Regions from separate parts of the Homo sapiens genome. Here all the other regions are linked to region 2. Evidence: promoter capture Hi-C in 16 types of primary human blood cells and fetal thymus (Javierre and others, 2016). All regions are on one chromosome and are shown on one strand. Each heading gives the region's core, a stretch centred on a gene start or on the middle of the fragment in contact. The rest is flanking DNA. Distances are from core to core; before and after follow the strand shown.

The links. The method cuts DNA at HindIII sites, captures the fragments that hold promoters and counts their contacts. A CHiCAGO score of 5 or more calls a contact.
Region 1: a contact is called between a fragment that was not itself captured here and the fragment with the promoter of CD300LD in region 2, in 4 of 17 cell types (monocytes, M2 macrophages, M1 macrophages and 1 more). The highest score is 10.0, in monocytes.
Region 3: a contact is called between a fragment that was not itself captured here and the fragment with the promoter of CD300LD in region 2, in 1 of 17 cell types (M0 macrophages). The highest score is 5.4, in M0 macrophages.
Region 4: a contact is called between a fragment that was not itself captured here and the fragment with the promoter of CD300LD in region 2, in 4 of 17 cell types (monocytes, M2 macrophages, megakaryocytes and 1 more). The highest score is 6.8, in monocytes.
Region 5: a contact is called between a fragment that was not itself captured here and the fragment with the promoter of CD300LD in region 2, in 1 of 17 cell types (monocytes). The highest score is 6.1, in monocytes.

What each region holds. Positions count from the first base shown.
Region 1 is chr17:74,391,088-74,396,388 of GRCh38, reverse strand. No RefSeq gene overlaps it. Among named protein-coding and RNA genes, the nearest start is that of GPR142, 26 kb to the right of the region's middle. RefSeq lists enhancers at 1,245-1,745, 1,746-2,246. The HindIII fragment of the contact is 3,051 bases long and covers 987-4,037 here.
Region 2 is chr17:74,589,544-74,594,942 of GRCh38, reverse strand. CD300LD (CD300 molecule like family member d) reads left to right here and starts at 2,660. Exons shown (of 4, transcript NM_001115152.2): 1 at 2,660-2,780. The coding sequence starts at 2,741. It overlaps CD300LD-AS1 (CD300LD antisense RNA 1), which reads right to left. Exons shown (of 3, transcript NR_171003.1): 2 at 4,198-4,424; 3 at 734-2,959. RefSeq lists an enhancer at 2,627-2,756. The HindIII fragment of the contact is 5,067 bases long and covers 1-3,220 here.
Region 3 is chr17:74,345,295-74,351,379 of GRCh38, reverse strand. KIF19 (kinesin family member 19) reads right to left here. Exons shown (of 20, transcript NM_153209.4): 8 at 4,856-5,002; 9 at 3,481-3,603; 10 at 2,031-2,196; 11 at 805-979; 12 at 475-673. Among named protein-coding and RNA genes, the nearest start is that of BTBD17, 14 kb to the left of the region's middle. The HindIII fragment of the contact is 2,750 bases long and covers 3,144-5,893 here.
Region 4 is chr17:74,433,619-74,439,355 of GRCh38, reverse strand. All of the region lies in intron 1 of GPRC5C (G protein-coupled receptor class C group 5 member C), which reads right to left. Among named protein-coding and RNA genes, the nearest start is that of GPRC5C, 4.4 kb to the right of the region's middle. The HindIII fragment of the contact is 430 bases long and covers 1,482-1,911 here.
Region 5 is chr17:74,765,512-74,771,188 of GRCh38, reverse strand. It overlaps NHERF1 (NHERF family PDZ scaffold protein 1), which reads right to left. Exons shown (of 6, transcript NM_004252.5): 4 at 4,213-4,253; 5 at 2,953-3,042; 6 at 1,836-2,721. The coding sequence ends at 2,533. NAT9 (N-acetyltransferase 9) reads left to right here. Exons shown (of 7, transcript NM_015654.5): 7 at 1-660. Among named protein-coding and RNA genes, the nearest start is that of NAT9, 8.0 kb to the left of the region's middle. RefSeq lists a silencer at 185-284. The HindIII fragment of the contact is 7,456 bases long and covers 1-5,172 here.

The DNA of each region.
Region 1 (5,301 bases), core at 1,263-3,762, 200 kb after region 2:
CCAGCTAATTTTTGTATTTTTAGTAGATACGGGGTTTCACCATGTTGGCCAGGATGGTCTCGATCTCTTGACCTCATGATCTGCTTGCCTCGGCCTCCCAAAGTGCTGGGATTACAAGCGTGTGCCACCATGCCTGGCCTCACCTTTTAAACTGTTTATTTTTTTAAAATAAGTAACATGTTTGCCTAGTTCAAAAAAATTTTTTGAATTTTTATTGTTTTTAGAGATGAGGGTCTCACTGTGTTGCCTAGGCTGGAATGCAGTGGCTATTCATAGACCCCATCATGGCTCACTGTAGCCTTGAATTCCAGGCTTCGAGTGATTCTTCTGCCTCAGCCTTCCAAGTAGCTGGGACTACAGGCACGTGCCACCCGGCCCAGCTAACATATTTTAAAATGCTCAAGTTACAAAAAGGTATATGCTTGCCTCTGTATAGCTAATGAAACCAATCTGGGGTATCCATCCGGAGATATTCCTTAGCACACACATTAGACCAGCATAGACATTGCTTCTCTGTTACCCTCCTTTACCCAAATGGGAGTGTGCCATTTCATCCATTCATCGAGAATTGAAACCAGCCAGCCCCACAGCCCGTTCTGCTCCTCAATTTCTTTTGTTTTGTTTTTCCTCTTTCCAATGTATCTAGGACACGGTTCCATACTCGTCCATCAATGGTTCCAATTATCTGTTCTGCCTACTGTGATCCATCGCATGGGGACACCGCAAGTGTGGAACCAGTCACCTATGTAGGAGCCTCCAATCCTTTGTCATTATTACAAACAATGCTGCCTGGGTCATGTCATAAATGTGCACGCATAGCTAGGTGTTCCGTTTGTACAGGTAGAATCGCTGGGTCAAAGAATTTGTGCACTTAGTGGATAGATATTGCCAACTTGCCTTCCGAGGAGATTGTATCATTTTACAGCCTGCTAGCAAAGCGGGAGAATGGCCTCCCCTTCTTGCCAAGTGAGTGTGTCCTGAAAGCTTGCATCTCTGCCAATCTGCTCTGTGGAAAATGGGGTCTGGGTATAGTTTTCATTTGCACTTGTCTCCTGCTAAATGAGGTTGAGCGTCTTTTCAGCGTCCAGCCCTATGGCTGGCTCCAGGTCCTCTCCGTACACAGCCTTAAGGCTGTGGCCTTGCCTGTGACTGGCTCTGCAAGATCCAGGACCAGATTTGTGTTTCTATCTTCCGGCTTCTCGCTGAGTCACTCCCAAGAAGGAAAGGGCAGCAGGCTCAGGTTATTTCTGCCTGGGCCATCTGAGCTGCCAGTCCTGGGAAGACCTTGGCCTCCTGCACTCCCAGTGGGCGCCCGGCACCTGTGCATTGCACCTGTCAAACCCAGGCTTCCTGGTCCCCCTGGGAGGGATAGGGGCTGGCAGATAGGGATCAGGCCAGACATCTTTGTAAACTAGGCATGAAAGGACCCAGCTAGACTGCAAGAAGGAGGATTTGGAAGAAAGCAAAATGTCACTAAGCTCTAAGTGACAAAATGAGAGCAATGAGGCTGAGTGGAGGGAAGAGACTTAGGCTATTGAGAGGACTTTGGGCAGAGAGGGTGGTGAGCCACCGCCGAGGGATGGTAAACTTGGGAACAGCTCTCACTGGAAGTCACGTGAGACGCACTGTGTAGCTTCCACCCTGGCTCCGTGGCTCATCGTCACTTCAGGGTTAGTGCTAAGAGTTGCCTAGGGTGGGAAGTAGAGACAGCCTCTTGCCTGTGCATGGAGAATTCAGGCCACGCATGCGACCAGCCAGAGGCCTGGGGAAGCCCCTCTCTCCACAGGGACCCTCTCTAAGCAGGGTCTGGGCATCTGCGGGGCAGCTCTGGTCAGGTGGTTGTAATTTAAGCTCGGGGCCACCCTGTACGTCTGGCTGAGTCTTGCTCACGGAAGGATGAGAGAAGCCAGGAGAAGCTGGTGGCTGGATTCCTGGGCCCCTAGGGAGTCTGCAGCCTGTTATTTCCTGACTCAAACAAAAAGTAAATTTGCACTGGAAATTGCTGAGGCAGAGTCATCCTGGAGCTCCTTGAAGGATGGGGACTTGTAATTTTCTAACTTCCAGGGCCTCTGACCCCTGGTTGCTGGGCTTTTCCATCTGTGAGCTTCATTGAAGACCCTGGGGCCTAGTCTAGGCTCAAACACCATCCACAGTCAAAGCTCCCCTGCCTGCTCTGCTGGGGCCGGCAATCCCGAGCTGGACTTCAGAAGTGGACAGGGAGAGAGGTTTGCTGTATCTGGGACCCCATTTCAGTTCCATCCAGGTGTCCCATGCTGCTGTGTCAGAGGGAAGATGAGCCACTGCTGATCTTTACCCCAGCCCTGACCAGAGACCAACACCGTTGCGGCAGGTGGCATCCCAGGTGGTGGGCAGGCAGTGTGGGGCCACCTTCCTGAAGCCAGCTTCTCAGAGTCTCTCAATGCCACATTACCAAGCAGAGTTTTCAATAACTGTAGCTAGGGATGCTCTCCTCCCCCCAGTTCTTCAGTCTCTCTGGGGGAAAAACACAAAAAGTTGAGGTTGTCCCTGGGGCCACCACGAAATGCTTAATTGCTTTCTGAGAGAATTGTCACCTCTTTCTGCTTTCCTCCCCCTCTCCACTGCTCTTCTCTCCTCTCCTCCGACCACTGGAGGCTCTTGCTGGGGGAGCTGGGGCTGAAGACATGAGCTCCCTGACTGTGTCCCAAGGGAACCGGGAGCATGTGCTGACTCGCAGTCTGCGTCTCCAAATATATTGCTGCACCACCTTTGCTGAAAAAAAGAACCCTATGTTTTGGGGGAATAAATGTTCTTTTTGCTGTGAGCCAGGCACTCTTTGACAGCAGATGGATGATGGCCCAGGCCAGCTGAGTCAGCCAGACTTTGGAGCAAGCAGTGTGAACCAAGACAGGGATGGGAGCCAGCCGAGGAAAGTGAGGTACAGGGATATTTGAAGGTTTTCATCCTGGGAGTTTAGTCAGCACCTTGTGCAACTTGATTTACACTGGGGGCCAAAGAGGGATGTGTATTATGAAGGGTAAGCTAAAAAGCAGTCACAGATAGACTCCCAAATGTATAATAGCTCAAATACCTTAGGAATTTATTTCTTAGTCACATAACAGACCAAGACGAGCGTTCCTGATTGGTCAGTGGCTTTCCTCCACGTGGTGATTCAGGGACCCAGGCTCCTTCCATCTCAGGGCTCTCCCCTTCCCCAGGGTCTCGTTGGTACCTATATCCAGCTGGCAAAGAGGAGGGAAGTGATGGAGGAAGCACACCTGCTTCTGATGCCTTGGCTCAGAGGGGCTGCACAGCTTTTCTGCTCACATTCTACTGGTAGGAATTTGTCACGTGGACACACCCAGTTGCAAAGGCAGCTGGGAAATGTAGTCTCTGCTCTTAGTGACAATACTGTGCTATGAAAGGGGTGTGCAGATTTTGGTAGACAGCTAACCATCTCTGCCACACGTCCTAAATCAAGCCATTTAGGTCACAAGACCGGGAGAGAGAGCAAGTCATTTTGAGTTTCTGTTTTTGAGACAGGGTCTCACTCTGTCACCCAGGCGGGAGTGCAGTGGCATGATCATAGTGCACTGTAGCCTCAACTTCTTGTGCTCAAGCCACCCTTCCACCTCAGCCTCCCAAGAGCTGGGACTACAGGTGCATGCCACCAGGACCAGCTAATTTATTTTTATATTTTGTAGAGACAGGGTCTCCCTATGTTGCCCAGGTTCGTCTCAAACTCCTAGGCTCAAGCTATCCACCCGCCTTGGCATCCCAAAATGCTGGGATTACACGCACGAGCCACCGCGCCTGGCCACTCTGGGTCTTTAATTAGGGAGTCCTGCCTGAGTAACTTGCTAAAAAGGATTTTCCTTTTGCCAAGGATTGGAAGATCCAACAGCATCAGAACTGGGCAGAAATACAGGGGAAAATTAACAGAGAAGAAAACTAATAAGAAACCTGGATAATGATAATAAGAAGCTGTGCGATTCCCCTGCAATTGGTTTATCTGTACATAGTTCATGCCCAAACTTCCCAGCCTGAGCACAGAAGCTTGGGCCTCTGGCAGAAACCGTGCGAGCAAAGATGTGGACGGTTCTCTGTGGAGGAGGGGCACAGCCAGAGTGCAGGGTGAGGCTGCAATTTCAAGGCTGTGGGAGAAATCAGAAGGCCTCATTTGCCTCCTCCCCTGGGATCAACATCCATGCCCTGGAACCTTCACTGTGCAGGCACCTGTATTAGGTATTATTTCTGCATAACAAATTGCCACAAATTTAGCAGCCATTTATTTGCTCACGGTTCTGTAGGTTAGCCATCTGGGGCAGGCTTCACTGGATCTCTGCTTAGGATGTCAGGAAGCCAAAATCAAGGTGTTGGTCAGCCTGGGCTCTCATCCAGAGGCTCTAGGGAGGAATCGACTTCCAGGTTCACTTAGGTTGTTGACAGAACCCACTTCCTTGTGGTTGCAGGACTGAGGTTCCTGTTTTCTTGCTGGCCGTTGGCTGGGCGTCTCTCTGAGCTCCTTGGGGCTGTTCACAAGTCCTTTCCATGTAATGCTTCCTGCATCTTTAAAGCCAGTGAACGTGCATCCCATTCTTCTTGTGCTTAGAATCTCTCTGACTTCCCTTCTGCTATTGGAGAAACTCTCTGCTTTTAATAAGCTCGTGGGATTAGATCCAGCCCACTCAGATAACTGACCTACTTGGAGATCAACTGATTGGTAATGTTAATTACACTGCAGATCCCTTCTGCCATATAATATAATATCATCAAGGGAGTAACACACCCAGGGACAGAGATTGTGAAGCCATCTAAGAATTCTGATTCCCATAATGTCCAAAGCTGTGGGTCTGGGACCCAGAATGGCCTACATTGAAGCTAAAAAGACTTTTGCTTTCTGGCCAAAGAGTTGCCCCACTTGGTTGCACCCAACCATGGTGAGGTAATTGCTGGGCCTGGTCCCAGCTCTTCCCATATACACAGGAGATCTAGAGACAGAGAGGAAATGGCCCCTCCCCCTGAAAGCTCCTTTCTCTTGTCAAAAGACAAAATTACAACAAATTTAAAGATCTTAATTGGCTTTTACTTGGATTCTAGAATTGGGCAATATCTCACCTTACACTATAGAATGAGTGTTCGGATTGAGCTGAGCAGTAGAGGTTGGCTTTGAAAGCAGAAACAGAACAAACATCAGATTTCAAAGTTATTTTCCTTGTAAGATTAAAGCAGAGGGGACTTCCTTATCATGCTGGCTAAAACTGGCCTGTTTGGGGATCTGGCTATTATCCCTCACTCTCCTGATGTCTCAGAATGTCAGAT
Region 2 (5,399 bases), core at 1,411-3,910:
GTACCCTCAGAGTAAAGGGCAGATAAAATAAATTGCATTTTGCAACTCCTACTTCTAATTGACCCACCTGATAAAACTCAGGGGAGGCTTTGAACTCAGAGCCAGCAGGTGTGATGAAGAGTGTGGGTCAGAAGTGGGAATGGAGACTGGGGACCCAATTGGAGCTTTGTTCATGGAGCAGTTCCACAAACATGTTTTTGTTTTGTTTTGTTTTGTTTTTGAGATGGAGTCTCACTCTGTCACCCCGGCTGAAGTGCAATGGTGTGATCTCGGCTCACTGCAACATCCGCCTCCCAGGTTCAAGTGATTCTCCTGCCTCAGCCTCCCAAGTAGCTGGAATTACAGGCGTGCGCTGCCATGCTGGGCTAATTTTTGTATTTTTTGGTAGAGACGGGGTTTCACTATGTTGGCCAGGCTGGTCTTGAACTCCTGACCTCAGGTGATCCACGCGCCTCGACCCCCCAAAGTGCTGGGATTATAGATGTGAGCCACTGTGCCCGGCCAAACATGTACATCTTTACATATACCCCAAATGCCTGGAGGCAGGCACTGACCCCCAGGCAAAAGAGCAGGAATTCTTTATTTTAATGTAATATCTGGGAAGCCATGGCAGTGAGAATGCTGGAGCTCAACTTCAATCCTCTTCAGTCTAGAGTTTAGAAGACCGCTCTCTGCCCACGCCCCTTAAAGTGTAGCTTGTAAGTCAAGAAAGAATCAAGGGTTCAAACAATTTGGCATGATAAATTGGAACTATTTTCTTTTCTTTCTCTTTCTTTTTATATTTTATTTTATTTCAATAGTTTTTGGGGAGCAGATGGCTTTTGGTTACAAGGATAAGGTCTTTAGCAGTGACTTCTGAGATTTTGGTGCACCCTTCACTGGAGCAGTGTACACTGTACCCAATGTATGGTTTTTTATCCCTCATCCCCTGCATCCTTTCCCCTAAGTCCCCAAAATCCATTGTATCATTCTTGTGCCTTTGTATCTTCATAGCGCAGCTCCCACTTATAAGTGAGGATGTACAATATTTGGTTCTCCATTCCTGAGTTATTTCACTTAGAATAATGATCTCCAACTCCATCCAGGTTGCTGTGAATGCCATTATTTTGTTCCTTTTTGTGGCTGAATAGTATTCCATGGTGTATATGTACACCGCATTGTCTTTATCCACTCATTGCTTGATGGGCATTTAGGCTGGTTCCCTATGTTTTCAATCGCAAATTGTGCTGCTATAAACATGCGTGTACAAGTGTCTTTTTTGGAACTAGTTTTTTTGCCCAGGCTAGAGAGCAGTGGTGCAATCTGGGCTCACTGCAATCTCCACCTCCCAGGTTCAGGCGATTCTCCTGCCTCAGCCTCCTGAGTAGCTGGGATTACAGGCGTGTGCCACCACCTGGCTAATTTTTGTATTTTTAGTAGAGATGGGGTTTCTCCATGTTGGCCAGGCTGGTTTCGAACTCCTGACCTCAGGTGGTCTGTCCGCCTTGGCCTCCCAAAGTGCTGGATTACAGGCATGAGCCACCAGAGCTATTTTATATACTATTTACTCCTACATACTCTGAGGTCTCAGTTAGCTACACTTTATCTTGTTCTCAACTATGATTGGATAACCAAGAATCAGCAGACACTTGAGGAAGGCTCATAATATAGAAGAAGCAGACAACAAAACAAAGATGTGACCACTGAGTGGAGGGATATAGTTCAAGGAACAGAAGAGAGTTTGAAAACATCAGTAATCAAAGAACCAAAAAAACTTTTCGAAATAAAAATACAGTCTCTAAAATCAATATTTGATCCAAGGATTGGAAGGGAAAGTACAAGCATGAAATAAACAATATAAAAAGCTCCCCAAATGTAGAACAAAGCCCACAGATATGGAAAATATAAAACAGGAGAGAAAAAATGAATCGATTCAGGAGGGAAAGGGAGAGAAAGAGGGAAGGGACCATCTAAAGAAAGTGGGGAGAGACCGGGAAAGAAGTCAGTTCGGGCGTCAGCAGAACAAGTAGATTACAACAGCAGCCAGGGGAAAGTGTGCAGGGATAGGGAGGATGAAATCAGGGCAAGAGGAGGCTAACGAGAAAAGGCAATTTCTCCATTCCTGACCTTCCCCACTGAGCCCAGCTTTGGCTTCAGAGTGATTTCAGAGTGGCTTCAGAGTGACTCATGATCCCAGTGGAAGTGTTCCTGGGGGAAGGGGCAGTGGGTCAGACAGCCCAGGGCAGGAAGAGGCAATGAGATGTCTTACAGTGGGGCTGCCTGGAAGAAGCCTGGGGCATGGGCTTTCTCCAGCAAGGCTGGGTGTGAGTCCTGTGCACTGTGGTCTTCCCAAAGTGCTCCTCTCCCTGCACTCCTCATGGCTGGCCTTGTCCGTCCTCTCCTCCAGGCAGTAGATCCCGCAGCTCCTCAATGCTTGGGTTCCTCCTGGCTCCTCCTGCTCCTTGGCTCCTACGTGCACTCCCGTGCAAACCTGACCAGTCCCGGACACATTTTCTTTTCCACATGCACAAAAGTTTGGGCACACCTTGCAACATACACTGTACCTTAGTCTTTTCAAAGAATGACACCTCTTTTCTCCTAATATGTAAAAAGAGAAGTAGCTACAGATGTAACAGGAAGTGAGCAAGAGACTTGAAGGAGATTCGAGTAGGTTTGCGGTGTTGACTTCCGAGCTTGGATTCAAGTCCCTGAAGGGCACCAGACACCTGTGATCACCAAGGAGAGGAGAGGAGACAGGACCATGTGGCTGTCCCCATCTCTGCTGCTTCTCATCCTCCCAGGTGAGTGTGGCTGGAGCTTTAAGGCACTGGAATGACAGCGGCTGGCTTGGAGACAGAGACGCTCTGTTCTCAGGAAGGAGACATGTCAGGGAAAATGACAGCGCCAATTCATCCATCCATGCCCATATTCATTAAATAGCAATCAAGTTTTTGTTATCTGACAGGTTCTGTGTTAGATGCTGCAGAAACAAACACACACAAAACAAAACAAGTATAGCTTCTTGTTGGAACAGTGGTTCTCAACCCTGACTGTTCCATATAAACAGATGAATGAACAGATATCAATGAAGGAAGGAACTAATGAGTGAGTCCATTCTTGAAGAACTTTTTTTTTTTTTTTTTTTTGAGCTGGTGTCTCGCTCTGTCACCCAGGCTGGAGTGCTTCTTTCACTTAGCATGATGTTTCAAGGTTACTTTGTGTTGTAGCACAAATCAAAGCTTCATTCTTTTTCATGGCTGCATAGTATTTCACAGTGGATATACCACATTTGGTTTCTCCAGTCATTTGTCAATGAACCTTAGGGTTGTTTCTACCTTTTAAAAATTGTTAGTAATAATGTTATGAACTTTCATAGCACAGTTTTGTATGGAGATATGTTTTCAGTTCTCTTGGGTATATATCTAGGGGTAAAATGGCTGAATCCTATGTTAATTCTATGTTTAACTTTTTGAGGAAGCATCAAACCTTTTTCCCAAGGATTTATATTTGAGTACAGCTTTGGCTGTCATGTCAACAAATTTTGATACGTAGTGTTTTCATTTCTGTTAAAATGTAACAAATCTATGTGCTTCTCATATTATCTATACTCAGATCAAGCTTTGTAAGAAAATTTTTCCTTCCAATCTCAAATTTATTTTCTTTTAAAATAGATTATTATTATTATTATTATTATTTTTATTTTTTTTTTTTTTGTAGAGATGAGGACTCACTTTCATGCCCAGGCTGGTCTCAAACTCCTGGGCTCAAGTGATCCTCCCACTTTGGCCTCCCAAAGTGCTGGGATTATAGGTGTGAGCCACCATGCCTGGCTTCAAATTTATATTCTGTAAACAATTTTCAGATATATTCTCCTTCCTTTCCTTCCTTCTGAGACAGGGTGTGCTCTGTCACCCAATCTGGAGTACAGTGCTGGGATCAGGGTTCACTGCAGCCTTGACCTCCCAGGCTCAAGCCATCCTCCCACCTCAGCCTCCTGAGTGAGTAGCTGGGACTACAGGCATGTGGTGCGACACCCAGCTAATATTTATTTATTTATTTAGTCTCGCTATGTTGCCAGGGCTGCTCTCAAGCTCCAGGGCTCACGCGATTCTCCTGCCTCAGCCTCCCAAAGTTGTTATATTACAAGTGTGAGCTACCACACCCAGCTCTTATTTCTTATAAATAACTTCCAGATGTAGTTTTTCTTTAAATATTTACCTTAATTGTTGTCTTTCCATTCTGATGTAGAACTTTTTTCAGAGTGAACAAATGAAGCCCCTATACCCATCTTTCCCCAGGAGGTCGTGTGTAGTTTCTTAGTTCCCTTCAGATGCCATAGAAAGCAGATTTGGGCATGGAGTCCAATTTCTGTTCCAGGAATTCCTTGGGTTGTGGAGCTCTGCCTGTTTATGGTGAAATTGTCTTCCGCTCCCACCATGGTGACCCTGGTTTTTCAAGACATTCCAATGAAGTCTAAAGTTTTCATTCATCCAGGGGTAATAATAATAATAATAATAATAACAAACATAATATAGTAACATAGAGGTAGATGCCATTACTATTCCCACTTATAGAAAACGAAGTCACAGTGTATTAGTCCATTTTCACGCTGCTGATAAGGACATACCCGAGACTGAGTAAATTACACAGAAAAAGAGGTTTAATGGACTCACAGTTCCACATGACTGGGGAGGCCTCACAATCATGGTGGAAGGTGAAAGGCATGTATTATATGGCAGCAGGCAAGAGAGAGAATGAGAGCCAAGTGAAAGAGGTTTCCCATTATAAAACCATCAGCTCTCATGAGACTTATTCACTACCACGAGAACAATGTGGGGGAAACCGCCCCATGATTCAATTAACTCCCAACTGGTGCCCCCCACAACATGTGGAAATTATGGGAGCTACAATTCAAGATGAGATTTGGGTGAGGACACAGACAAACCGTATCACACAGAGAGGTTAATTTGCCCAGGTTCACAAAACTTATCAGTGGTAGAGCCAGGATTCAAACCCAAGCACTCTGGCACAGCCTGAGCTCTTACCCACGACCTTGGGTGTCTCTTGGCGTTTCAGAGACAACCTCTCTCCTGCCACAGGAATTGCCCCCAGGGCTTCTTCAAGTGCTCCAATGTGCTTCTAGTTCCATCTCAAGTTTATGCTGCACTAATCACAGCTATGGTTTATTGCCAGTGCATAAATCATCAAAATCAATCGTTTCTTTAGATGGGTCTCCCTTTAGGTCAGTTGAATTTAAAGAATTTCTGGCAAAGCTCTCACTTAAGGTATTTCCACTGTTTTGAATTGTTTTCAAGTGAAAGATTAGGCTGACAAGTTCATGGAGACTAGTCTTGTCCTGGATCAAATTGTTTGAAAAGTGGAGCTAATTAGGTATGCCCGTTCCTCACCCTTTAACTGAC
Region 3 (6,085 bases), core at 3,269-5,768, 250 kb after region 2:
CTGGGATTACAGGCGTGAGCCACCACACTAGGCTTTTTTTTTTTTTTTTTTGTATTTTTAGTAAAGACGGGATTTCGCCATGTTGGCCAGGCTGGTCTCGAACTCCTGGCCTCAAGTGATCTGCCTACCTCAACTTCCCAACGTGCTGAGATTACAGGTGTGAGTCACTGTGCCCAGCCTGAAAAACCCTAATTATAACATTAGTTACCATTTTTTGAGTCCTTGGTATGTGCCAGGCATTTATGTAATCTTCCCAGCAACCCCATGAGGGCTGCACCATGGACTGCTCCCATTTTACAGGTGGGGAATGTGACGCATAGAGAAGTTAAAGAGCTTAGCAAAGTCACACAGGATTTGTGGCCTGAGTTCCCAAGTCTCACGGCTACCCCCACCCTGGCCCCTCCGCCTTGCCTCTCAAACCTGCTCACCCTGTCCCCTAAACCCACTCTCCTTGTCCCCCCAAACCCTGGACACCTTCTGCTTGCGCAGTTGCTTCTGCTCGTCCACCAGGGCTGCAATGCTCTCCCGGGCTGCGGCCACCTCGGGTGGCTCCAGGATGTCTGGTTGGTCATCACCTGTGTCTGAGTCCTTCTCGCTGTCGTCCTTAGCGTAGCACTCCTTTCGCTGCTCCTCCCGCCATTTGAGGGCCCGGCGGGACTTCTCATGCTTCCAGCTGCCGCAGCCCCACCCAGAGAGACAGGGCATTCAGGCCATGGGGGCAGGGCACACTGTACAGCCACAGGTCGTGCTCCTCTGTCCCAGGCACAGGGGTGGGGCCTGGAGGGTCCTGGGAGGGGGGCTTACCCGGCGATGGTGAGCAGGTGTCGGGAGGTGTCAATCTGGACCTCCATGGCGCGGTTCTCCAGCTCCAGCAGGCGCCTCCGCACATCCATCTGCTCCTGGAAGGCGCTGGCGAGCTGCTCCCGAAGCTGTCCCATGCCAGCCTTCTCACCCTGCCCGCTGTGCAGCTGGACCTCAGCTGCCGATGGGTGAGGGTGGGCAAGGTAGAGGAGGCGGCAAGTTCAGCTAGCAAAGCCTGGGCCCACCTGGGCCCCTCCCCTCCTTTTCTTCCCAACTCAGTGCTCCCACTTCCTGTCCAACTGCTTCCTCCAGGAAGACCCCCTAGATTACTACATCCTCCCAGACCCCACTCCCACATTGAGTCTTCAAGCTGTTGCCCAAAAGCAATTCCCAGCTCCTTGGTATGAACTGGGCTCCTGCTAACCCTTACAGCACCTCTGTGCCAACTATAAAAAGGTGCCCCTAGAAACTACCGTCTGTGGCCAGGCACAGTAGCTTACACCTGTAATCCCAGCACTTTGGGAGGCCTAGGCAGGCAGATCACCTGAGGTCGGGAGTTCGAGACCAGCCTGGCCAACATGGTGAAACCTCGTCTCTACTAAAAATACAAAAATTAGCCAGGTGTGGTGGCGGGCACCTGTAATCCCAGCTACTTGGGAGGCTGAGGCAGAAGAATCGCTTGAACCCGGGAGGCAGAGGTTGCAGTAAGCCTAGATCATGCCACTGCACTCCAGCCTGGGCAACAGAGCAAGACTCTGTCTCAAAAAAAAAAAAAAATCTTTACTGTCTGCCTCTCTCTTTATATTAGTAAATTTTTTTTTAAAAAAAGCTTTACTGTCTGTTGGAAAACCATCATAGCAAATATGCAGGTCTACAAGGAAACGGAGCCCATTCCGGGGGTGCAGGCATGACCTCGCAGCCCTACGCCACAGCCCTTAGTGTGCGCCCTGCGCAGCTCATTGCTCACGTGCCTCTCCCTCGTGGGATCCCACCTACTCTTCCAAGGTGGGGTTGGGAAATCGGCTTGTGATCTCTGGTAACTGTCTGAAGCAGAGATCACAACCCCATTTAACAGCTGAATGCTAGGAGGCTCAGAGCTGGTGAGTGCCTAGCTCAACCACCCAGCCAGAAAGAGCCCGATTCTGGATTTGAACACAACATGGCCTGATCCCAGAGCAACGTGAGGCTGGCCGGAGGGGGCTGCCACTCACACAGACCCACAGGCGCACCTTGGATGTGGCGGATGTCACCCCGATCCTGCCGGCCCCGGGCCTGGCCCCGCCCAGTCTGCTCATCAATCTTGCGCTTGAGTCGCTGGATCTCGCCCCGCAGGTCAGCGATGATGCTGGTGTACTGGGCGATGTGGTAGGAGACGTTCAGGAGGTTCTGCTTCACCTGCAGGGAACACGTATGGAGCGGAGGGGATGCAGTCACCCCAGGTGCACTCACCGAGGCCTGCCTGCAGGGCCTTTCTTCCCCCTGCCTCCCCCAGTCTTTCTGGGTGACAGTAATGGCCTCCTTTCCTCCACTTCCACAACCTCCTGTCACACTCACTGCTAGATCTCATCAACCTTCAGTGGCTTCCTAATGCCTGCGGGGAACGTCCTCATTCCTCCACCCGTTGTTGAAGGGCCACCCCCATCTCTCTGATTTTCTCTGGGCTCACCGCTCCTGCATGAACATCCCACTCCAGTTGAAGACCTGTCCTGCTCTCCCCATACCCACCACAGACGCCATCCCCTTCCTGCCTTTGGAACCTGTGCTCTCCCTGCTCCCACCTTTCTGGAATGTCCTCCCAGCCTTCAGGGTCCCACTCACAGTCTCCAGAGAGTTCCACTGGACCCCACCAGGCCACCCCCACCTCCTGTTCCTGTCTTGCCCCAGCACCTACCATTGGCATCATTTACCTGCTATTAGGAATATTCTGAACCATCAATGAGCTGTTTCAAGAATGTGTCTCCCGTCCCCCATTGAGGGGTTGGAATAAAACTTACAGCCCTCAGGGCAGCAGCTGGCAAGTGTTAGGTGTTGGGAGAATGTTCCCTACATGCTATCATACATGAATCCATTCCCACTCCTCCACACACGAACAGGTGGAAATGGATTTCTAAGCGGATGGCAAGGGTTCCGACATGCTTACAGACAGGTGAGGACACGGACTTGGAAACGGGGCAGATCTCATTTCCATCCTCAGCGCCATCACTGGCCAGCTGGGAAGTCACTTAACTTCCTTAAGCCTTGCTGTCCTAATCTGTACATGGGAACCGCAATAATACTGCTGTTTTTTGAGGATCAAAGGAGGTAGCATGTGAAACAGCTCAGAGCAAGTGCTCAATGAAGCTTGCCTCCTGTGATGACCATCATGAAGAGGTGCTTTGGAAATGCAAAGGTCTAAATGAGCATCTGAAGACGAGGAAGGGAAGAGAAGAGGGGATGAGGCAGGGGGAGCACAGTCCTGGGACTGGAGGAAGCGGGGACCCTTGGGAGCTGTCGGCTTCCCGGCAGAGGAGCAGGGTTTGGAGGTGCAGGGAAAGTGTACAGGTGACGATCAACTAGGGAATGAGGCCAGTGCAGCAGTGGCTGGTTCCAGAGAGTGCAGTGGGGTGGCAGGGATCAGCCCGGGGGCTTGAATCTCAGCCCAGGAAGGTGTGTCCTGGTGGACGGTCCAGGGGCCCTCACCCTAGTCTTAATGTTCTTGGCCCGGCCGGCGTAGGTCAGGGTGTTCCGGGACTCCTCGAAGGCACTGCTCGCAGGACTGATGTGAGCGATCATCACTGTGCGGCTGTTTCCTCCCAGAGAGTCCTGGATGGGAGGTGGCTGTGGTCAGTGGGGACTGCCTCCTCAGGCCTTCCTCCTGCCAGGCTGTTCACGATGCCCTCCCTGGCGAGTGCAATCTCTCTGTCTCTTTACACTTAAGGGACCCGGCTGCTGAGCGTCATATGGTGTGAGGCTTGGGAGGAAGAAAGCCCTGCTCCAGCAATTACCAGCTGTGTAACCTTAATAAAGCTCATTCACCTCTTTAGTTCTTTTTTTTTTTTTTTTGAGACAGGGTCTCGATCTGTCATCCAGGCTGGAGTGCAGTGGCGCTGTCTCAGCTCACTGCAACCTCCACCTCCCAGGTCCAAGCAATTCTCGTGCCTCAGCCTCTCGAGTAGCTGGGACTATAGGCGTCTGCCACCATGCCTGGGCAATTTTTGTATTTTTAGTAGAGATGGGGTTTCACCATGGTGGCCAGGCTTGTCTTGAACTCCTGACCTTAAGTGATCCACCTGCCTCGGCCTCCCAAAGTGCTGGGATTCCAGGCGTGAGCCACCACACCCGGCTTTCCTTGCTTTTTAAGGGGGCAGTCCTTTTGCAATTGTCCCCACCTCCCCGGCTTCTAGGTGCAGTCATGACGGCAGCTGCTGGCAATGTTAAGTAAGCGGTGACTCTGATATTAGATCAGGGAGGCCTCTGACTGGATCCTACTTTCAGCACTTACTAGTGTGAGCCCTTAGGAACATTACCTAACTGAGTTGTGCCTCAGTTTCCTCATCTGCAAATGTAATCCCTCAAACTCATAGAGTTGTTGACGAGATCTAAGGAGCTAATAGAGTGAAGTACTGAATTCAAGAGACCAGCCAGGAGTGGGCGCTCAGTGATGCTGCTATAATTTAAGGCCAAGGACACCCCTGCACAAAGGAGGCCACCCCCAAACAGCTGACCTGTGGGGCCATGAGGCTGACTGCCCACCTGCACCCCCAAATCTAGACGGCTCTGACCCACAGCCCTGGGTGGGGGTATCACGTGCTCCTTTTCCTTCCCATTGCCCAGCCTTTGGTTAGGGTCGTCAGATAAAATACAGGATACCCAGTTAAATTTGAATTTCAGATATGCAATTACTTTGTTTTAGCATAAGAATATCCCAAATATTTCATGGGACATATTTACGCTAAAATAAATTTTGCTGTGTATCCTGAGGTTGGAATTTAGCTGGGTGCCCTGTATTTTCATTTGTTTAATCTGGCAGCCTCACCCTTGGTGCCCAGTGCCCAGGCCCAGCTGTGGCTGGTACCTTCAGGAGCCGGGTGAGCTTGCTGTCGCGATAGTTGATGTACTTGTTGCTACCCTTGTCGCTCAGGGCGTTGATGCAGTTGCCCAGTGCCAGCAGTGAGCGGTTGATGTGGGCCCCCTCCTTCATACGCTGCCCACGATTCTGTGTCTAGGGGGCGAGCAAAGGGCACACGTGTGGCCTGATGAGGCAGGGGACTGGGTTTCTCCCCAGCCACCCCACCAATGAATGACCTGGTGATCCTGGGTAATAAACCCCCAAGGACCTTGTGGCCGTCCTCCTGCCAAGGCCACTGAGGGCATTGGAGAAGGTTAAGAGACCCAGAGGCCTCTGAACAAGAGTGATGGGCTGACAGCTTCTGAGGAGGGCTGAGATGGCCGGTTCTCCTCAGGGCAGGTGCCGTGGCACGGCCTGACACACAGTGCCATGGATGAGATGGGAGGGAGGTTGCTTTCCAGGCAGCTCAGCTGGGAGCCGGCAGGACCACTGGTGCTCCAGAGGGTGCTCCAGGGAGCAAGGAGGAAAGTGCGTGCACATGTGCATGGTGGTGGAGGGCAGGTTCTTCTCCTTTTCTTGGGCCTGCAGGAGCATGTCAAAGCCGAGGAGGCCCTGCCTGCAGCTCCCCTTAGGAGGTGGCTCTGCCCAGCCTGGAGAAGCCGGGACCAGCTCGCTCCAGTGGCTGAAGGGCACTCTCTCTCCTCCCAGGCCTCTCCCCTGTGTGCCTTCCAGGAAGCCCCCCAGGCTTTACTGGAAGGGAGGGGTAAGTTTCTTGAACCTGCCCTGTTCGGATCCGACCCCAGATGTTCAAAGACAAAAGACTGCTCATTCTTTCTGGCACTGTCATTTCCCTTGCATTTGTTCCAGTGCCAGCAATGGTGACATCACCCAGCCTCATTGCTCAGGTGACCATAAAACCCCCAAGATTGCCTGCACGAGGGAGCCCAGACCTACACCAGCTGGGTGGTGCTGCCACCAAGGCTGCAGAGCTCGGCAAGCAGGACTTCATGGGAGGGGACAAAGGTGCTGCCACAAAGCCAAGCTTCATGAGAGGGGACAAAGATGCTGCCAGAAATGGGTGACGGGGACCTTCTCCTCTTTGTGATGTGACTGGCTGGGTCCTCTCCCAGGATGTGTCAAGTCCTCCCAGTCAGGGGATGCTTGTCTCTCCCTGCCTCCAACTACTCCTTTGGGCCCATTCATTGTCTTCCTGGATCCCTCCCCTAGGGCAGCCAC
Region 4 (5,737 bases), core at 447-2,946, 150 kb after region 2:
GGGACTTTCAGGCTTCAGGAGGTCAGCTGCTATGCCCCTAAACTCCATTCCTGTGAGGCCTAAATCCACAGCCAGTCAGCTATGTGTTCATTCATTCATTCAATAGACTTAACAAGCAGCTGCAGCAGGCATAACCAACAGCCAGGAAAAATGAAGAGACAGTCATTTTCCCACTTTTAGTGCCAAGTCTCCAGTTCAGAATCCTCCATTTTTTGCCTAGCTCGGAAGCGGAAGTCAAGGGTGAAATAAACGAAGTCCCCAGCTAAGGAGTTAATGACTTAATGCAAAAATTTTCCTTCGGAGCATTAACATTTTAAAAGTAAGAACCAGGCAAGGGCAATGCAAAACCCAAAGGAATTAATCTTTAATAGAAGACTTTAAGACGTTGTAGCTAGAAGGCAAGAAAATTAGCTTTTATTAACACCAGCAAGGTAATTTTCACTCCATCTACTGACTGCCGCTCTACCAAATGCCACAGATCTGTGCCAGAGAAGAAAACCAAACTCCTGCTCCCAATACCAATTGGATTTTCCCACGTGAAGTGGAGGTAATGGATTTAACAGGTTAAGAAATATTAAAGACCAAATCAATGAGTTTTTTTCCAATCAAAAGTTTTAAATGTACTTGGAGGAAACCTAACACTGAAAATTTAAATGCTGCTGGGCACGGTGGTTCATGCCTATAATCCCAGCACTTTGGGAGGTCAAGGTGAACAGATTGCTAGAGTCCAGGAGTTTGAGACCAGCCTGGGCAACATGGTGAAACCCCGTCTCTATAAAAAACACAAAAATTAGCAGCTGGGTGCAGTGGCTCACGCCTGTAATCCCAGCACTTTGGGAGGCCAAGACTGGTGGATCACTTGAGGTCAGGAGTTCGAGACCAGCCCGGCCAAAATGGTGAAACCCCGTCTCTACTAAAAATACAAAAATTAGCCGGGCGTGGAGGTGCACGCCTATAATACCAGCTATTCAGGAGGCTGAGGCAGGAGAATTGCTTGAGCCCGGGAGGTGGAAGTTGCAGTGAGCCAAGACTGCGCCACTGCACTCCAACCTGATCAATAGAGTGAGACTCTGTATGAAAACAAACAACAACAACAACAACAAATATATATATATATATATATATATATATATATATATATATATATATGAATTAGCAGAGAGTGTGGTGGCATGCACCTGTAGTCTGAGCTACTTGGGAGGCTGAGGTTAGAGGATCATCTGAGCCCAGGGGATCGAGGCTGCAGTGAGCTGCGATTGCACCACTGCACTGCAGCCTGGGCAACAGAGCGAGACTGTTTCCAAAAAAAAGAAAGAAAAGAAAAGAAAAGAAAAAGAAAATTTAAATGCTTAAAGAAACAGGTTATACGTTTCAAAATTCTATGAATGCAGGTAGTCCACATTTAAGTCACCCCACGTGTTCAAATAACTAGTTGTAACCCAGCTTCATCAGGAACTCTCTGGGAAAACAGCAACCAAGCTTTCCTGGTCTGACAGTGACCACTAGTGGCTGGCAGGGGAATGGCATTATCTAACTCTCTTCTGTGAGGCTGCCACCCTTTTTCCTTTTTTAGGGGGATTGTGAGGTTGTTTATACATGGTTTACCTCCTTACTGTTTTCTACCATTCCTGGCTACTTAATTTCTAATAGGCAAACAAAAGCCCTAAATCCCACAGTTGATAGAAATTGTCCCTCTTTTCAACACAGAAGCAAAAAAAAAAAAAAATTCTGTCCATAATTGTTATGTGAAAGAACACTTACTAAATCAGGGGCAATGCAACTCATAAAATTAAGTGAAATGGACACAATAAAGAGGATCCATTTTCAAAGTCCCTTCAAATAGTCTCCATGCCACTTGAAAATATTTAGGTCGTCTTAGCCATCTCAGCTACCTCATCTTTCAATTAAGCTTGCTTAAGATTAACTCTTAAAATTAACTATCTCATGTAAATGTACTGTTGTTTTCCTAAATAACTGGCGTTCTAATGGCTAGTTTCTCTTTACTTCTAATGCAGGACTTAAATAAGCTTCTGTAGGGGACTTTGTAAATCAATAAAGCACCAACTGCATTTTATTTACAAGTGCTGGAAAGAGGAGTAAGAGAGGGCTAAGAGGTAAGGAGTAGGCTGGGTGCGGTGGCTCATGCTGTAATCCCAGCACTTTTGGCGGGCAGATCACGAGGTCAGGAGTTCCAGACCAGCCTGACCAACATGCTGAAACCACGTCTCTACTAAAAATACAAAAATTAGCCAGGTGTGGTGGCGTGCGCCTGTAATCCCAGCTACTCAGGAGGCTGAGGCAGAAGAATCCCTTGAACCTGGGAGGCAGAAGATTGCAGTGAGCCGAGATTGCGCCACTGCACTCCAGCCTGGGTGACGGAGCGAGACTCCATCTCAAAAACCAAAAACAACAACGACAACAACAACAACAACAAAAAAGGGAAGGCGTAATATGGACCCACTCCTGGGAGATAATTTATGGATAACAACAAGCTGTGGGATCCTAAATGTTCAACTTCATCTTGGGCTCCACAGCCAAACCAGCCAGAACTTGGGCTTGAAGCTGGACGTAGGGAAGAGAACCCTCAGAACTGCCACTTAGACTCCGGACACCTGCACTTTCAAGGGCTTTTCACCCCACCTCCCTCGGCCAGGGCCCAGTTTAGAACAGGCAATTACTCCAAATCAGCAAATATTGACTGTGCGCCTGGGAAGGAAAGGCCCTGTTGTTCCCAGAGCTGTGGAAAATACAAACATGAACAAACGTAGTCCCTGACTTGATGGCATTTAAAATCTATCAAGAGAGATAAGGTAGGTACTCACAAAAATTACACAAGGAAGAATATGATTAAGGGCCACACAACGGAATTTACCTGCAGGAGAGAGACAGGGGCTACAGGAACACAGAAGAGAAACAGGCAGAGTAGAGAAAGACTGTTCCGCAGAGTTTTACTCAGAATCTAATAAAAAAACATACCAGGTCCCAGACACTGCCAAGAGACAGGGACACCCAAAAGCTAAGCCCTGAAGAATGTGAGGAAGGACTGAGCAGGTGAAGGGAACAAGGAGAGGGACGTGCAAGGCAGAAAAGATGGTGTGAATCAAAGCCCTTTGAGCCCAAGTCCAGAGCAAGTTAAAAAAGAATTCAGTTTGCCAAGTATCAGCTGAGTCTGCAAAGGGAGGCTGCAGCTGCTGGCTGACACATTGGAAATGCTACAGGGGTGGGGCTGGGGGCATTATCCTAAAGGCAACAGGCAGCCACTGAAGGCTGCTTTTAGCATCATGGGGGCATAGCCAGGGTTGCGCTTTTAGGAAAAGAGTCTGGCAAAAATGCACAGGCAATCGATTTGTTGGGGGGCACATTCATTCCAGTTTAAAGGTCAAGGCCAAAGGTAAAGCCATAATGGCCAGCTCTGAAAGATCCTTTCCAAAAAACAATCGAAGGACTGGTTGGATGGCGGAGGTGGGGGAAAAGGATACTAAAGCCCATACTACAAGTTCAAATCTAACAGGCATGTCATTACAGAAAACCAAGCCAGGGACCAATGTCACTCATTCTTCTTGATCCATCTTGCCCTAGAAATACTTGCCTGTACCCTGCTGGCTCCAAGAAGCCCACAGGCACTTGGGCTAGGGTCAGGAAAGCTTCACAGCTCTCTGTCCCTAAGCCCCCACCTCCAGTTTCCCCCTGATTTTGTGGTTGGTGACCAGCAACTTCCTTCTGCACCTGACCCTTCAAGTCTTGCTTCTCCTGCCAACCCCCTCAATATAGAAACTTTCAAGGAATGAGAGAGGAGCCTGTACCTGCCCCTCACCGCATCCAGGTACCATGCTGCTGCCCAGCAGCCAGGCTGCTGCTTTTAGTAAGTTGCTGAGTAACTTAACAGCCTCAGAGGAAACAACCTGGTCCCATCCTGAAATATCTTATTTCTCTGGTTCCCCCAGAAATGGAAGGGCAGGTGGGAAGACAGAAATACATGGACTCAGGTGGGAAACCTGGGCTTTCTGGGCGTGGCTCTCATCCACTGCCTAGGACAGGGACCCTCAGAGAGTTAAAGAGAAGCTCAGAAGAGCACAGCTCCAGCCCTCTGATGCCGGGAGTGCACATTCAGCCAATGCCTTTTTTTTTTCTTTTTTTGAGACGGAGTCTCGCTCTGTCGCCCAGGCTGGAGCGCAGTGGCGTGATCTCGGCTCACTGCAAGCTCCGCCTCCCAGGTTCATGCCATTCTCCTGCCTCAGCCTCCCGAGTAGCTGGGACTACAGGCGCCCGCCACCACGCCCGGCTAATTTTTTCTATTTTTAGTAGAGACGGGGTTTCACCGTGTTAGCTAGGATGGTCTCAATCTCCTGACCTCGTGATCCGCCCGCTTCGGCCTCCCAAAGTGCTGGGATTACAGGCGTGAGCCACTGCGCCCAGCCTTTTTTTTTTTCTTGAGACGAAGCTTCACTCTTGTTGCCCAGACTGGAGTGCAATGGCATGATCTCGGCTCACTGCAACCTCCAACTCCCAGGTTCAAGCAATTCTCCTGCCTCAGCCTCCCGAGTAGCTGGGATTACAGGTGCCCACCACCATGCCCAACTAATTTTTGTATTTTTAGTAGAGACAGGGTTTCACTATGTTGGCCAGGCTGGTCTCAAACTCCTGACCTAAGGTGATCCACCTACCTCAGCCTCTCAAAGTGCTGGGATTACAAGTGTGAGCCACCGTTCCCGGCCCAATGCCACCTTTTAAGATGGTGGCTAAGGGACTGACAAGATGGACTCAGCTCTGGTCAGAGGCTTTTCCTCAGGACCCTGGAGGAAACTTCTGCCTCCTGTGGGTCCCCAGACCCTGCACTAAGACTGAGCCTTCTGATCCCTGAACGTTCAAATCATGTCCGTGTCTCCCCTCCAGGGCTGTAAGGTCTTTGAAGCTGGTGAACAAGACTTCTAGAATCCACTGCCACAGCTGGTGCTGTGCCTGAACACAGTGGGCATTTGGAAGTCACCTCTGGATGGTCCCAGGTGCATTTCTCCACACCCAGGGTTGTCCCCTCCATGTTGGAGTTGCATCTTCTGCTTAAAGATTCTCAGAGGGTTCAAGGAGGGGGGTAGGAGGGGAACCTCCTTCCGCCCTGAGTCTCCCCCACCCCACAGCTGAAGCCCAGCTCCAGCCTCAGATTATTTTCTGGACAAAAGGGCCTTTTGCTTCACTTCCCTGGAATCAGTTGTACAAATATTTTTAATCGCCTCCGAAATCGGCCTTTCCCCAGGCTCAGCCACCCTGCCCCCAGCTCTCCTGTGAGTCAGTGCAGTCCAGTTGCTGAACCTCCCTCCTCCCTCCTTCTCTCTCCAGGGGGCGCAGAGGCCTGGTGGGCTCAGAGGCTCAGAGGCCCAGAGGCCCAAGCAGCCCTGACTGGTTTCCCCCAGCAACAAGTGGCTTCATCCAGCAACCGGGGAGACAGCCAGGCCTTCTCACTTCTCCAGAGCAAAACTCCCTTCCTCGCTCCAGCATCATCCACACACAAGCCTGAGACCCCCTCCACCCACCAGGGCCAAGGATACCGCACTGGAAAGAGAGCTCCAGCGCGTCACAGGGCCAACCAAACTCAACACTGACCCATGGCCAATGGCTGTCTTCAAGGGTGCTGTGACCAGGGCACTCTTCAGGGAGGTTCCCCCAGGGATACCACAGAGCACTTGCCTTCCTCCCATCCCACACACTCAAGAGCCTATAGGGAAAGACGATGGCCCGACTG
Region 5 (5,677 bases), core at 195-2,694, 180 kb before region 2:
AACAACAGGTGGTCCAGAGTGAGTGTGGCCTGGCCCCTCAACCTAGTGTCCGTCCTCCTCTCTCCTGGAGCCAGTCTTGAGTTTAAAGGCATTAGTGTTAGATACAGCTCCTTGTGGCTGGAAAACACCCCTCTGCTGATAAAGCTCAGGGGGCACTGAGGAAGCAGAGGCCCCTTGGGGGTGCCCTCCTGAAGAGAGCGTCAGGCCATCAGCTCTGTCCCTCTGGTGCTCCCACGTCTGTTCCTCACCCTCCATCTCTGGGAGCAGCTGCACCTGACTGGCCACGCGGGGGCAGTGGAGGCACAGGCTCAGGGTGGCCGGGCTACCTGGCACCCTATGGCTTACAAAGTAGAGTTGGCCCAGTTTCCTTCCACCTGAGGGGAGCACTCTGACTCCTAACAGTCTTCCTTGCCCTGCCATCATCTGGGGTGGCTGGCTGTCAAGAAAGGCCGGGCATGCTTTCTAAACACAGCCACAGGAGGCTTGTAGGGCATCTTCCAGGTGGGGAAACAGTCTTAGATAAGTAAGGTGACTTGCCTAAGGCCTCCCAGCACCCTTGATCTTGGAGTCTCACAGCAGACTGCATGTGAACAACTGGAACCGAAAACATGCCTCAGTATAAAACAAACATTATAAAACGAACGCGTTGCTTGCCGTGGCTCCCTTCGTACCATGTGTACCTCAGCAATGAGAGTTCCCTTGGGGCCACCCATTCCTTCCACCAGTCTTCAGGTTAATGAAGAGTCAAAGGTCCCCCAGGGCTTCCCCACCCAGCAGGTGAGATAGGGAGGGGCCCTCCACGACCCCTGTGGAGGGGAATCTGTCAGGGGCCAAAGGGTAGAAGCAAGGGTGGGGTGGGGGCAGGTCAGCTGAGCAGGGCACTGCTGTGGTAAGGGTTTTGGATGGTTCCTCTGACAAGGAGCAGGAGATGGCCAGATAGTGACTGGCCTGGGGGACACTGTCCACTCCCTGATTCCAGATCTACCTGCTTTACTCATTCCCCTCAGCCCAGGAGCCTATTTTCTGAGAGGTGTCCCTTTGGGTTGGGTGGAGACTAGCCTGGGGGCACCTTCCTCCTGAGCACCTGCCCGGAACCTCCCGGCTCTGCAGCCTAGCTCTTGCAAGCCACCTTCCTGGACCTCCAGATCAGGCTTCAGGTGCCAAAGGTATCAGGGACCTGGGTCTTTTGTTGGGGGCAGGGCACCTTGCCCTTGAACAGTCCCTTCCACCCCAGCTAGCCACACAGCATGTCCCCGGGCTCAGTGGACCGGTTTGTTTTCCCCTGGCACTGGACACTTGCCCTCCAATCAGGTCACAATGGCCAGATAAGATAGAGGATCTGGCACCAGCCCAGCCTGCCCCTGGGAATTCTGCACCCCACTGGCTATAGGCAGAAAGAGTAAAGCCAAGTCCTCACATTCCAAACCCAGCTCCATCCTGGGACACACTTTCCACGCTTCTGGAATTAAAGGAACCTCCCAGAGTCCTCTGAGAACGTTGGTCTGAGCTCCCACTTCCCCTTGTAAATATCCCCGTTAGACAAGGGGTCCCCAGCCCACAATCGGTGCTTGCAGCCCAGCACACAGGCACACTGACCACACCAAGCTGAATACCCGGCTGGGTGCATGCATCTTCCTTCCTACAGGACTGCAGCTAGGCCCTCTAGCTAAAGCTACCCAGGCTTGGGGTCACAGGGAGCCCTTGATGGCCCTCCCTCCAGTGTACCCCACCCTCCCAGCCAAAGACCACCTTGGCTTACCATTTCTCAATTTCTACCTATAAGGGGTCCAAGGCCAGAGGACAAAACTTCCAAGGAACACACGGAGGCTGAAGGGTTTGGAGGAACCAGCTGAATTTCTGAAAGTGTTTCCTTACAATGGTGGTACCTGGCTCAGGGATGGGCAGGGGTAGCCAAACCCTCCCCGTGCTGCCCAGTTCGCTGAGGGTGGGAGTAGGAACAAAAGTTTAAGGCTGAGGCCACTGCCATGCCCTGGATGTAACAACCAGGAAAATCATGTTAATCAAGGAAACAAAAATTCCTCTAGACTCTGCAATACTGCACTCTTAACAAAAATCAAATGAAAACAAGACGTGTCTGCCACAGGTCTCAGGGTAACAGATGCCCTGTCCACTGAGAGCGGCAGTTCTGCAGTCAGAGTTCTTTGATCAGCCCTGGACCCATTTATCACATGGGGGAGGAAGGGAGGGTGCCCTCTCGCCTGGTCCCATGATCCTGGCATGGTGCAGGTTCCAGCGATGTCCCAGGCAGGGTGGCAAAGGGACACCCGGTAGGATGAGGCACTCAGTGAGGAGGAGGGAGGCAGAGTCTCCTTTCTGACTGCGGGAGGACGGGAACACATTCACCTTCCCTAAAGTCAGGGAAGAACATAGTTCTCTAGAAAAATCATTTGTCAAGAAAGGGGATGTGGGTGCTGATTTGTACATTGATTCAGGGGAGTAATTGGGGAGAAGGAAAAAGGTGGGGTGGAATGCTGGCTCGGCCCTGCCAGTCACTGGGTGGCAGCAGGGCGCTCAGAGGTTGCTGAAGAGTTCGTTTTTCTTGCTCCAGTCCATCTGCGGGGCCCGTTTGCTGCTGCGTTTCTGGTGGGCCCTCTCTTTGGCCATGGCCAGGGAGATGTTGAAGTCTAGGATGGGGTCGGAGGAGGAGGTAGACGAGGGCGCTGTGGAGTCCTGTTTTGGGGGGCTGTCTTGGGAATTCAGCTGTAAAGAGAAGTGGGGGCAGGAAGTTGGGAGTCAGTCCCTCATTAGGCTCCCTGGTCCTCAGCCTTGGTGAGGTGGCTCCGTTGGGGCCGTGCCCAGGGAAGCCAGGTCACAAGAACAGAATGCGGCTCAGCATGTGACCTCAAAGGCAGGCTGGTGTGCCAGGAACAAGTGGGGCCTGGGAATCGGCTTCCTGTAACCCAGTTGCCACCCCCCGCATGGCTGGCCTACCTCCTCGCTGGTGTCACTGGAGGCGGATCTCACCAGGGCTGGCCTGGGGCTCTCCAAGGCTGCCTCTGCCAGGGCTTCACGACTGTTCTCCTGGCAGAGAGGAGAGGGTTGTGGGTTGTCAGAGGATGGGGTGAGGGGGTCCTGAGGAGGGAGGGAGCTCCTGGGGAAGTAGGGGCCTCAGACTGAGAAGAGGTAGCACTGATGCCCTGGCCACCCACCCCTGGTTCCCACCTCCTGAGCCTGCTGGGGCTCCTTTTTACATTCCTTTGGGGATCAGAGGGCAGGCTGGTTCTACTGCTCAGGCTGGAGGGATGGGATGGGAACAGACCATCATGGGATTAGCTGAACCGCTCCCTCTCCCTGGGCCACTCCAATGTGGCTTTTAGGTACTGGCTTGCCTTTTGGGCCAGTGACCAGGGAGGGGCTTCTTGGAATGTGGGGACACATGGGGGCATGGGGAGCCCATGTGGTGCTCCCTGAATCTCATGTGGTCCACCTGACTGTTTGCCAGGATTTGACCCCAGGAATCCTGAAACCCTAACCCTGAAGCAGCAAAGGAGGGCCTTGAAAGAAGAAGGTGGATGGAAAGTTCTAGATCCAAAGATGAGGTGAAAGAAGGTTGAGGGCTGGGTCCAAGGGCCCTCCCCCTTGCCAAGTACCCTGGCAGGAGCTCCTAGGGAAGGGGAACCTTTAAGCAGACCCTGCAGAGTTCCTGCTCTGTGGCCTGACTGAGTCGGCCTGTCCCAGAGCGAAGGCTTTGGCTGGGGCGTCAGCTTGGCACCCAGCCCCTTCCTGGGTTCCTCCATGGCTTCAGCTGGCGCCCAGCCCCACCATCTCTTCCCCGGGCCTCACCCCCTTTCCCTTCTGCCCAGGGAAGGGGGGAGGAGGGGCTTTGTTCTTCCAACCCAGACTAGAAGTAGCAGGGGCCCGGCTGCCCGTGGCCAGACACTGAAGCTCTGTTCTTGGGGGGAAGAATGGCCCCTTCTGTATGGTGGGGAGTTGGAGGCGGGGGCTTGTCACCCAGGATGGCGGGCTGCAGAGGGGCCCAGCCAGCCCGCTCCCTCCTGACAGCTTTGGCCCCAGGCAGAGGCCAAGAGGGTTCTGGCAGTTCTATAGCTTGGAGCTGAAGAAGGAGCTGGAACTGGGGACCCTGGGGTTTTGGCCTTAGTCAGATGGCTATCCTACCAACCACAGCACCTTCTGATCTGTCTCATGCACCCCAAGGATTGAAATCCAAAGAGACAGGGGACCCGCCCTTACCTTCTGTATCTCCCCATTGGTGAAGGGCACAGGCAGGGGACCTAGGCAAAGGACAGAGCAGAGGTGAGTCCAGAACGGGGATGGAATAGAGCGTGGAGAGGAGGTAGGAGTTGGGTTTGGGCAGATTATTAGATCTTGTTCCCTGGGTCAACATCTCAAACTTTTTTGACTACCACCCACCATGAATACATTTGCCTTATTTATTTAAAAAAAATTTTTTTTTTATAGAGATGGGGCCTTGCCATGTCATGCAGGATGGTCTCAAACTCCTAGCCCCAAGCAATCCTTCCACCTTGGCCTCCCAAAGTGTTGGGATTACAGGTGTGAGCAAATGTCTGGCCTACGTTTGCCATTTTGATGACTCAGCACACACAAAGATTTTGTGTGATAAAAGTTTCACAAAGCAACACCCTTACTACAGTGTTCTTTGATATTTTTAATTTCATTTCATTAAAAAAAACAAAAAAATGTCTGGGCCAGGCATAGTGGCTCACACCAGTAATCCCAGCACTTTGGGAGGCCGAGGCACCTGGATCACTTGAGGTTAGGAGTTTGAGACCAGCCTGGCCAACATGGTGAAACCCCGTCTCTACTAAAAAAGACAAAAAGAAAATTAGCTGGGCATGGTGGCACACGCCTGTAATCCTAGCTACTTGGGAGGCTGAGGTGGGAAAATTGTTTGAACCCAGAAGGTGGAGGTTGCAGTGAGCCGAGATCACGCCACTACACTCCAGCCTGGGCAACACAGCAAGACTCTGGCAAAACAAAACAAAACAAAACAAAACAAAAAAAACAAACCAAAAAACCTGCTGGTCTCTATCTACTAAATTGATCTTATGAGGCACTGATGGGTCACAAGGTGTTTAAAAAATGTATTGTCTCAGATGGGGATGAAATTCGAGGATGGCTGCCTAATTCCTACCTGGGAATTCCTACCTGGGAACTCCTACGTGGGAAGCTTGTTAAAGTACAGATTCCTGGACCTTGGCAGCACAGATTCTGGTTTAGTGGGCAGGCCTAAGAATCAACATTTTCCAAACGCTTCCCAGGTGATGATGATGACACCAAAATTGGAACCACACCCCAGACTATAGTTAGTACCTGCCTCAACTGAAAGAGAAAATAGTCTGGGCTCGGTGGCTCATGACTGGGACCCCAGCACTTTGGGAGACTGTGGCAGGCGGATCACCTGAGGTCAGGAGTTCAAGACCAGCCTGGCCAACATGGCGAAACCCTATCCCTACTAAAAATACAAAAATTAGCCGGGCATGGTGGCAGGCGCCTGTAATCCCAGCTACTCAGGAGGCTGAGGCAGGAGAATTGCTTGAACCCAGGAGGTGGAGGTTGCAGTGAGCCAAGATTGTGCCATTGCACTCTAGCCTGGGTGACAGAGACTGTGTCCGGAAAAAAAAAAAAAAAGGCCAGGCGCGGTGGCTCACACTTGTAATCGCAGTACTTTGGGAGG